Regions from separate parts of the Homo sapiens genome. Here region 1 is linked to region 2. The links are contacts of gene promoters, found by promoter capture Hi-C in blood cells and fetal thymus (Javierre and others, 2016). All regions are on one chromosome and are shown on one strand. The core of a region is centred on a gene start or on the middle of the fragment in contact, and the rest is flanking DNA. Distances in the headings are between cores, read along the strand shown.

The links. Contacts are between HindIII fragments. The CHiCAGO score rates a contact against its expected background, and 5 or more counts as called.
Region 1: a contact is called between a fragment that was not itself captured here and the fragment with the promoter of TSPEAR-AS1 in region 2, in 1 of 17 cell types (fetal thymus). The highest score is 5.2, in fetal thymus.

What each region holds. Positions count from the first base shown.
Region 1 is chr21:45,126,970-45,131,767 of GRCh38, reverse strand. It overlaps ADARB1 (adenosine deaminase RNA specific B1), which reads right to left. Exons shown (of 11, transcript NM_001112.4): 2 at 3,195-3,366. Among named protein-coding and RNA genes, the nearest start is that of ADARB1, 55 kb to the right of the region's middle. The HindIII fragment of the contact is 1,069 bases long and covers 2,354-3,422 here.
Region 2 is chr21:44,503,620-44,508,481 of GRCh38, reverse strand. TSPEAR-AS1 (TSPEAR antisense RNA 1) reads right to left here and starts at 2,438. Exons shown (of 7, transcript NR_103707.1): 1 at 2,154-2,438; 2 at 1,383-1,835; 3 at 173-445. It overlaps TSPEAR (thrombospondin type laminin G domain and EAR repeats), which reads left to right. Exons shown (of 12, transcript NM_144991.3): 11 at 3,601-3,702. RefSeq lists enhancers at 1-95, 4,801-4,862. The HindIII fragment of the contact is 6,455 bases long and covers 14-4,862 here.

The DNA of each region.
Region 1 (4,798 bases), core at 1,639-4,138, 620 kb before region 2:
AGTGCCAGCCCCTAAAGACGCAGCTGCCTCTTGGCACTGGGCTCCATGCCCCTCCTCACTTCTCCTTTCAGTCAAGGCTTCGAGAGAACTTTAGTTCCTGACCAGTCGGTCAGGCGGCCACACCACACTGTGCACAGAGCAGGAGGCGGCAGCGATGCCCGGTGGTAGCAACAGGTAGCAACATGAGAAGTGGCGTAGGCATCATGGTGACATGGGCACTCCTAAACCTCCTGGAGGGAGCAGGGCCACCCCGGAAACAAGGAACTGTCCTGCACAAAAGGACTTCCATGCAGGTGGAAAGGCTGCTCATAATTCTCTAAGCCCAGCCCAGCTGAGTTTTGGATTGACACAATGCATTTTTCTATACTTTTAACATACACTCAATGTTCCAGAAATACAGAGACTACCTAGAGACAGGGAAGACTGAACACTGCTTCCTTCAGGTTTGACCATTTCAGAAAGTAATGCCACTCAGCTCTATTGCTTATGGTTTTCAGGTCACCAGCTCAGTACCTACCCCACATCTGCCTGCACTGACAGGCCCACACCACTCAGTGATCCGAGTGAAAGCAGCAGTGCCTAAATGTCCATACAGTGGCATAGAAAACTATTTTATTATGTATCTTCAGTTTCTCTTTATATTACATTTCAGCATGACACTGCTTTTTAACATTATATGGCTATAATTATATAAGGTAATATCTTCTGTGAACTTCATTTTAAAATAAAAAGATGAGTTAATAAATATTTGTTACAAAAAGAAGATGTGGTGTGGGGTGGCAATGAGAAAGACTGAGAAAGCTTTCCAGGCTTCAACAAGAGTCAAGGTTTCCCGAAGCCCTCCTCAGCAATTCCTCTTGCGCAGGGGAATTACTATAGGAATTCTATCTATTGTATCCCCCCAAGATGTTCCAGCCTCAGAAGATAATCTCATGTATAAAAACACAAGAAATAACTTCAGTCTTTTCAAGCAAAAAGAAAGGCAAAAACAGTGAGTCTGCCTGAAACTAAAAATAACTCCCCACAGCCCTGCAGTGCGACCTGTGGCTACACGGCACAGACAGCACTAAGGCAGGACCCGGGAGGGAGGCTCAGAGGGAAACCAGACAGTGCAGTGAGGCTGAGGACGGCCGTGCTTCCAAAGATGTTCCAGCCAAAATCTTTCATGTTTATTTATTTTTATTTAAACCACCCTGAAAAGGGAAAAGAATAACACGCCAAACTGTTTGCTGCCGAAATTAGCTCTTATTTTATGAAAGAAAGGAAATACACGATTTCTATTCGCAGCTAGCATTTAGTAACACAGAATCAGGAGGAGGAGATATGACTCATCATGTCGTAATATTTTATAATTTCCAGCTCTTCAGTTTTGCTTTCTCAGCACATGCTTTAGATATCTCCTTCTGGCCTGATTATTTTTTCTATGCTTTTAAGAACAATTTATTGGTGCAAAGGATTATAAATAATTCATTTCTCCAATGCACAGTTATATTATATAAAAATACTTGCTATTTCACATATATGGCATAATTAATGCAATGTTTTACTTCTGTGGCATGTTAAAAATAGGTAGTCACAAATCGACACTTAACTTAGCAATATTAAACCACAACGTCTCTTTCAGACTCATTCCAACTCTGGGATCCTCATTCTTTCAATAACCTCTGGTTACAGAGAAGCTGATTTCCTATCACTAATTAAGCTAGAAGAAGCGCTGTGGCTGAAAATAAAATCCCATCCCACAGCACAAGCCATGATAAAGGTGACCTGATTTTGACCTTCCCATACTTGGACTGCCTGTGTACCCCCCCAAAAAAAGCATCGGTTGAAGATAAAGCCTCCTTTAAAGGTCTCGCTAGGGAACCAGTTACCTGAAATTCCTGACATTTACAGACAGAAATGGCAAGCAGGACCTTTGCTGGCACAAACTCAAAACCCAGTAGTCAGACATGGGTGTGTCTCTACTCCCCAAAGACGGCGTCCCCCCTAGGCTCCCAGCCACTCTCATCCATCCACGCTCACGCCCTGGTGACCGCCCCCTACCTATGGCTCTGCACCAGCCACTCCCATCTGTCCACACTCACGCCCTGGTGACCGCTCCCTCCCCACAGCTCTGCATGCCATCCCGAACTCCCAGGCGGGAGCACGGCTGTGTCCAGTGAGCGGCTCACATGAGAGCTGCCAAGCGAGCGCCTGGTCCCTGCCATGCCCAGAGGGCATCTGAGGCCCAGTGGGCGCTCGTCAGTATCCACAGAGCAAATGGACACAGGAGCACACCTGCGTTCCTCCAGCCAGCAGCAGCCCTCTGACACCTTCTCTTTCCCCTCATCTCATCTGAACCCATGAAAAAGCTTCCCTGGAAATGTACAACTGGACTTCCTGAGTTAGTCACTCAGCTGCTCATAAGTAAATTAATCTGACACCATACTAATTTTACTGGGATTTTAGTATTTGTCACAACTTCTCTCAAAAGCAGACGCTGAATCATGAGATAGTCGCCAAAAATAAGTACTAAAGAAATGTTCTTCTTTTTTTTTTTGAGAAAGAGTCTTGCTCTGTCACCCAGGCTGGAATGCAACGGCATGATCTCAGCTCACTGCAGCCTCTGCCTCCCGGGTTCAAGCGATTCTCCTGCCTCAGTCTCCCGAGGCTGGGACTACAAGCGTGCACCATCACACCTGGCTAATTTTTGTATTTTTGGTAGAGATGGGGTTTCGTCACGTTGGCCAGGCTGGTCTCAAACTCCTGGCCTCAAGTAATCTGCCTGCCTCAGCCTCCCAATGTGCTGGGATTACAGGAAAATTTTCTTTTAATTACTCCTAAGAAAATAATAATTGATGGTAAAAGGCTTTCACCAAGTCTAGTGCCCGGCATGAAGCACTGACTCAATAAATGGTGAACTGACCCCAAAGAGGGCAGCAAGTGCCACACATGCCACTGGAGGGCAGCAGGTGCCACACATGCCACTGGAGGGCAGCAGGCACCACCCCAGAACAAGCAGGAGGGACTCATGGGTGAGCTAAGGCTGCAGTAAGATTAGAAATCAACCAACAGTAACAGATCATCTGTGCCGGGAAGTATTCAATAAAGCATCTTTCAAAGGCAAGCCAAAAGGCTTAATTAAGCGGTTTATATCAAGAAAAAGGCATTTCTACCAGTCAGATTTGATCAGATCTTTACAGGTTTTTACTCACCTTGAAATTTTTCTAGCTTTATGTCTGCTCTGATCCCAAGGCAGCTTCCTTCGGTGCGAGCGGACTGAGAGAGTATCTCAGCAGGACTGAAGTAAGCAGAACTCCGCGCTTGGCCAGTGTGTCTCCTTCAGTTGCCCCTTAAGCTCTCCATGCCAGCCTGAAAGGCTCCACTCTGTGTAACAGAGAGATTCGGTAACTTCACACTTGTTTGATTCAGTATCAAAAGCTTTGTCACCATTTCAGAAGTGAACTCTATAACAATAAATACTCTCCATGAAAAGTCTTCTAAATACAAATTTAAGTTATTTTAAATGTACTCTTCCGAATCTGTAAAGGGGATATGCGCAATCCATCACGTCTCCGTCCGTCTGCCTGCAGCAGGTAGAGGCACCTGTGACAGACGGAGGCAGATCGCTGCCAGCCCAACATCTCGGCATCAGCGGCACCAGGCCACACACTGAGGACTGGAGTCTCAGGCAGAATCTCACACGTACTCATCTTTTTTACAATTCAATATGCACACACCCCTACACATGCACACATGTGAATGTGAGTCCAGATACAGAGACGCACCATCCCTGCACGTGCTCTGCCCGGGTTTGGAAGCTACAGGCCACCTCTGCTTCTGAAGCAGAGGTTGTGAAACAGTATCTCCATCTAGTTTCTGCTCTGTGTGAAAGCGTTTTCAACCAGCAAGCCATTAGAGAAAATGTTTCAACATGCTAATATAATTATAAAACCTCAATATGGAGTATTAAAATTTTCTTCCTGAAAAGCAAACTGATATCCAAAAGAAGGGGAAGTCTGCAATGGGTTTCTCCATTGCAGAGTTCCAAAGAGAAGTCTCTGGGAGGTGTGTCCAGGGGTGAGCGGGTTTCTGAGTGGGAACCTGGAGGAAGGAGGTGAAGTGTGGGATAAGGTGCGCGTGAAAGTGGCTCGACTCTCGCTATGCAGACTTGGCCAGGCCATCACAATGCGTTCCTGCTGCCCCGGTCGCTGCTGCAGTCCTCAGAGGAGATTGGAGGCTACCTTCCAAACCTCCCACCTGTGACCAGCTGACATTCATCTACAACACACGTCAGCTCGTCTGCTGGGACAGACCTAAGACACAGAGACAAGCTCACCTGTGTCCTGCACTAGCACCATCAAGTCAAATGGGCTGTCACTGAAAATGCTCTATCAGCCTGGAATTACAGGTCACAGAGTCATCTTGTCCAGCACAGAGAATGAGGGCCACATGTCCAGAACTGTCCCCACTATCAATGACCCCCATCATCCCCACACCAGATTCAAGCTCCCAAATCACCCTCCCCAGCGGTCCCAATCACCACGCCTGGGTGGAGAGTGTCAAGAAGTGCAAGGACGTTGGCCTCTGACCTTCAGCGTTGCCTCCACTCAGTCCGAATCCAGCTCCACCACAGCCCCTCCCCAGTGGGCAGAGAGCAAGGGCCCCGAGTGAGCATGAGCTGAACAAGCTTCTCTGGAGATGGCACCTAGCCCCTCCCTCAATCCAAAGAGCCACAAAGAAGTAAAATCCATTCTAGAAGCTTTACACACCAAAAAGTCCACCGCCTAAACAGAGAAAGAAAAACACAGCAGAAAGG
Region 2 (4,862 bases), core at 1,189-3,688:
CATGGGTCAAGCTTGGAGCTGGAATCTGGCCCATTCCCATCCTGGGATGGAGCAGGCGGCTTTCCCAGGTTTCCTCGGGTTTCATGCACTCCTATTTCATTCGGTAACAATTCACCTGCCCCTCCTGGGCACTGGGCTCTAATCTCAGCTTGAGACACACAACAACACATACCTTTAGACCCTTCGAGGGGAAGAGTCTCCAAGATGAACTGCTCTGTGGAAAGGGCTGGGTGAGGTGCAGTGAAATCTTGTGTCCCCAGTGCGGAGGAGCGAGCCGGGCTGCTGTGTGCCGCTCAGCTGTGCGTGCCCACGGACGTGCAGAGAAGACTCGGGAAGGGAGTGCCCTCTCCGTCAGCAGTCACCCTAGGACCGGGAGGGCTGCAGGGGTATGTAGACAGGCCAGGAAGGACTTTCCCTATTTGCCCTGTTACTTCTGAACTCCTGGCTTTACAAAGGATGACAATGTTAACTTACTAATATCTTACTTATATGATTTTTAAAAATTAAAAAAAGAACACTCATAATAAAGAAAAAGAGCCAGCGGCGGTGTCTGCTGGGGGCACTGGGGATTCCGGGGTGACCTGCCTGTGGGCTCCGTGGCCCCTGCGTGGCCTGGCAGCCATGGCAGGAGAAACAGGCACGGGGCGGCGGTGGCAGTTGTGTGTCCCCAGCACGAATCCACGCCATCCAATGTCAACGCCGAGAACAAAACAAACATTAGGCTTTTTAGAACAACATTTAGAATAAGACAAGTTGGAGAATGAATTGTGATTAAAAATTAGTCATGGACATGATGCCCAGTCTAGAAACAGATGAGGCAGACGCCTCGGGATTTGAAAGCTGCGGGAACTGACAGAACACAGCTACACACTCGCGACTTATGGCCCTGTCACCACTGGACAGTGGTATGGACAGTTTATGAACTAAATTATGAAACACAGAAAGTACTTACCAATTAATTAAGGTAATGTTTAATAATTACCATCAAAACAGCACACACAAGTCAAACTCCTAGCCCTTCTACCCAGCATGGGGAATTCCCTACACTTCCCGGAGACGTGATGTGGCCTCACCAAGTCCAAAACCCTATTCAAGGGCGCTGAGGGGTTTTGTGGCTTCTGTGTGTAACCTTGGCTCTGACTGCCTTCAAATGGTCGCTTGTGTTTGCTTTTTAGATTCAGTAGTTCTATTAAATCCACAGATATGTGCAGCCATGGCTGCAGACAACTCTGGAACATTCTCATCCCCTCACAAGGAGCCCCCCACACCCTTTTCCAGCCCCTCCCTCCCAACTGGGCACCCCCGGGCCCACTTCCTGTCTCTGTGATTTCCCGTTCTGGACACTGCACAGAAATGGACTCGTAGAGCCGTGGCCTCTGTACCTGGCTTTTTCTCGCAGCACCGTGTCCTCCGGGTTGGTGGTGTGGCCGCGCGGCTCAGAGCATCCCCCTTCTCATGGCTGAGTCACACTTCATCCGTCCATTTGTCCGATGATGGGCATTTGCCAGAGGGCGTGATTCTGAAGAATAACATCTGTCCTACAGCGAGTGTGACCCAGGGCTGCTTTGGAGGCAGAATCGGGCACTAGATGCCTTATTTTGTGGTGAAACCGAAGCCGGCTTCTGATGTGAGCCTCGGTGCAGCCGGACAGGATCTTCCACCACTGGTACATCCGACGTGGCCGCTTGTCTTCCTCGGGTCTGGGTTTCAGAGCTCAGATCCGACTGAGGAGTAACCCCGCGGATTCACACTGACCCGGGGCCCGCGGCCGTGCCTCCAGACCAGAGCATGTGATCACAGGCGTCCTCGTCCTCCTCCCAGCGAGCTGGCACGGGCTGCATGGGAACCAAATCATAACCCACCATTAATGGAGGTGGCTCCAGATGTCACCCTGACTGACCGAAGGAGTGAGGAGCCCAAGGCCCCATGGGCTCTGCCCGCCCTGCCTGTCACTGGACACCTCTGTGATCCCTCCCTCTCCCAAGGCCCTGTCTGAGCCCCTGCTGCAGGCCGGCCCCACAACTGCCTGCAGGGAAGCACCGGGATGAGGCCCCTCTGCTGCCTGAACTGGCCACAGCCCTGAGGCTGCTGAATACAGAGGCACCCGCCTGGCCTGCATGTCAGCAGGACGCCTGCGTGTGCATGGCTTCGACCTCCATTTCCTCATCTTGAGATGTGGGGCTGACGCTGACAGCTCGGCAGGTGGGCTCCTGGGGAGGAAAGGATCCAGGGGAGCCGCTCCTCAGACCCCTCAAACCGAGCCATCCCCAAGCACAGATGCATCCTTGGTAAATTCAGGTGAGACTCCTAAGACAGGACACAGCAAATTTGTTTGCAACAAGAAACAGCTTCTGCTTCTAGGAGAACATCTGTGAACGAGCAGGTCCTGCAGGTCCTGTAGGCACCTCCTGGAGTGACCTCACGGCCGCTGACCTCACAGCTGAAGACACAATGCTGAGAGAAGAAACCAGGCACAGAGGCCACAGCACTGTGACGCCATTTCTGCACAGTGTCCAGAGCGGGAAACCAAGCTCCTGCCTCCAGCAGGCACCAGCAGCCTGAGACTTTTTCTCTGATTGTTTCAACCTCTTAAAAGTGGACTTTTGTACCCCGGTGTTCATAGCAGCAGCATTCACAGTAGCCACATGGAGGAAATTCCCCAAGTGTCTGTCAGCGGATGGACAAACACAACGTGTCCATTCACACAGCGGAGCGTTACTCGGCCTTAGAAAGGAAGGCGATTCTGACACACAGTGCGACACGGATGAACCTTGAGTCACTGGAGTCTCAGCTAAGGCAGACACAAAGGACAAATACCGTGCGATTCCATTCATATGAGGTCCCTAGAGTGGTCAAATTCATAGAGACAGAAAGTGGCGTGGTGGGTGCCGGGGCTGGGGGGGGGGGGGGGGGGAGGGGGGAGGGGGTGATGTTTACTGGGTGCAGAGCTTCGGTTTTGCAGGATGAAGGCGTTCTGGAGGTGGATGGTGGGGGCGGCCACACAGCAGTATGAATGTGCTTAATGCCCCTGATCTGTGCACCTAAAGATGGTTGAGGTGGGAAATGTTATGTTATATGTATTTTACCATAATTTAAAATTTGAGGCCAGGCATGGTGGCTCATGCCTGTAATCCCAGCACTTTGGGAGGCTGAGGTGGGCAGATCACTTGAGGTCAGGAGTTCAAGACCAGCCTGGACAACATGGTGAAACCCTGTCTGTACTACAAATACAAAAATTAGCCGGGCGTGGTGCCGCACACTTGTAATCCCAGCTACTCGGGAGGCTGAGGCAGGAGAATCGCTTGAATCCGAGAGGCAGAGGTTGCCGTGAGCCGAGATCTCGCCACTGCACTCCAGCCTGGGTGACAGAATGAGACTCCATCTCAAAAATAAAATAAAATAAAATTTGAAATTTTTTTTAAGCAAACAACTAATTTACATTTTCCTGGAATAGACCAACACATATGTGACTGTGAGAAAATCACTCCCCACTTTGGCCCCGGCTCCTCCTCTATAAATTTTGGAGGTAGCTTCTGGCCAATCCCCCAGTTCCCTGGCGATGTCTGTTGTGTCCTAATATCCACCCACTTGTTCCTGCAGTGCTCTGGACTGGGAGTTTTTCTCGGTGGGAGAAGATTATTTCCTGGTGGTGGCCAACTCCTTCGATGGGCGTACCTTCTCGGTGAACAGTATTATTTACAGGTAATGAGCTGCCGAGGCCGGCCTCCTCCCAGAGCCTTGCTTCCCCACTGTGGGCTCACCGAGGCCGGCCTCCTCCAAGAGACTTGCTTCCCCACTGTGGGCTCACCGAGGCCGGCCTCCTCCAAGAGACTTGCTTCCCCACTGTGGGCTCACCGAGGCCGGCCTCCTCCAAGAGACTTGCTTCCCCACTGTGGGCTCACCGAGGCCGGCCTCCTCCAAGAGACTTGCTTCCCCACTGTGGGCTCACCGAGGCCGGCCTCCTCCCAGAGCCTTGCTTCCCCACTGTGGGCTCACCGAGGCCGGCCTCCTCCAAGAGCCTTGCTTCCCCACTGTGGGCTCACTGAGGCCAGCTTCCTCCCAGAGCCTTGCTTCCCCCGAGGGCTCACCGAGGCCAGCTTCCTCCAAGAGACTTGCTTCCCCCGAGGGCTCACCGAGGCCAGCTTCCTCCCAGTGCCTTGCTTCCCCCTAAGGGCTCACCGAGGCCGGCTTCCTCCCAGAGCCCTGCTTCCCCCTGAGGGCTCACCGAGGCCAGCTACCCCCCGAGGGCTCACCGAGGCCGGCTTCCTCCCAGAGTCTTGCTTCCCCACTGTGGGCTCACCAAGGCCGGCCTCCTCCAAGAGACTTGCTTCCCCACTGTGGGCTCACTGAGGCCGGCTTCCTCCCAGAGCCTTGCTTCCCCACTGTGGGCTCACCAAGGCCAGCTTCCCCCCAAGGGCTCACCGAGGCCAACTTCCTCCCAGAGCCTTGCTTCCTGCTGAGGGCTCACCGAGGCCGGCTTCCTCCCAGAGCCTTGCTTCCCCGCCGAGGGCTCACCAACTCCGGCCTCCTCCCAGAGCCTTGCTTCCCGCCGAGGGCTCACCGAGGCCAGCTTCCTCCCAGCACATTGCTTCCCCCCTGTGGGCTCACCAAGGCCGGCTTCCCCCCAAGGGCTCACCAAGGCCGGCCTCCTCCCAGCGCCTTGCTTCCCCCCGAGGGCTCACCGAGGCCAGCTTCCTCCCAGAGCCTTGCTTCCCCCCGAGGGCTCACCAACTCCGGCCTCCTCCCAGAGCCTTGCTTCCCGCCGAGGGCTCACCGAGGCCGGCTTCCTCCCAGAGCCTTGCTTCCCCGCTGTGGGCTCACCAAGGCCGGCTTCCCCCCAAGGGCTCACCAAGGCCGGCCTC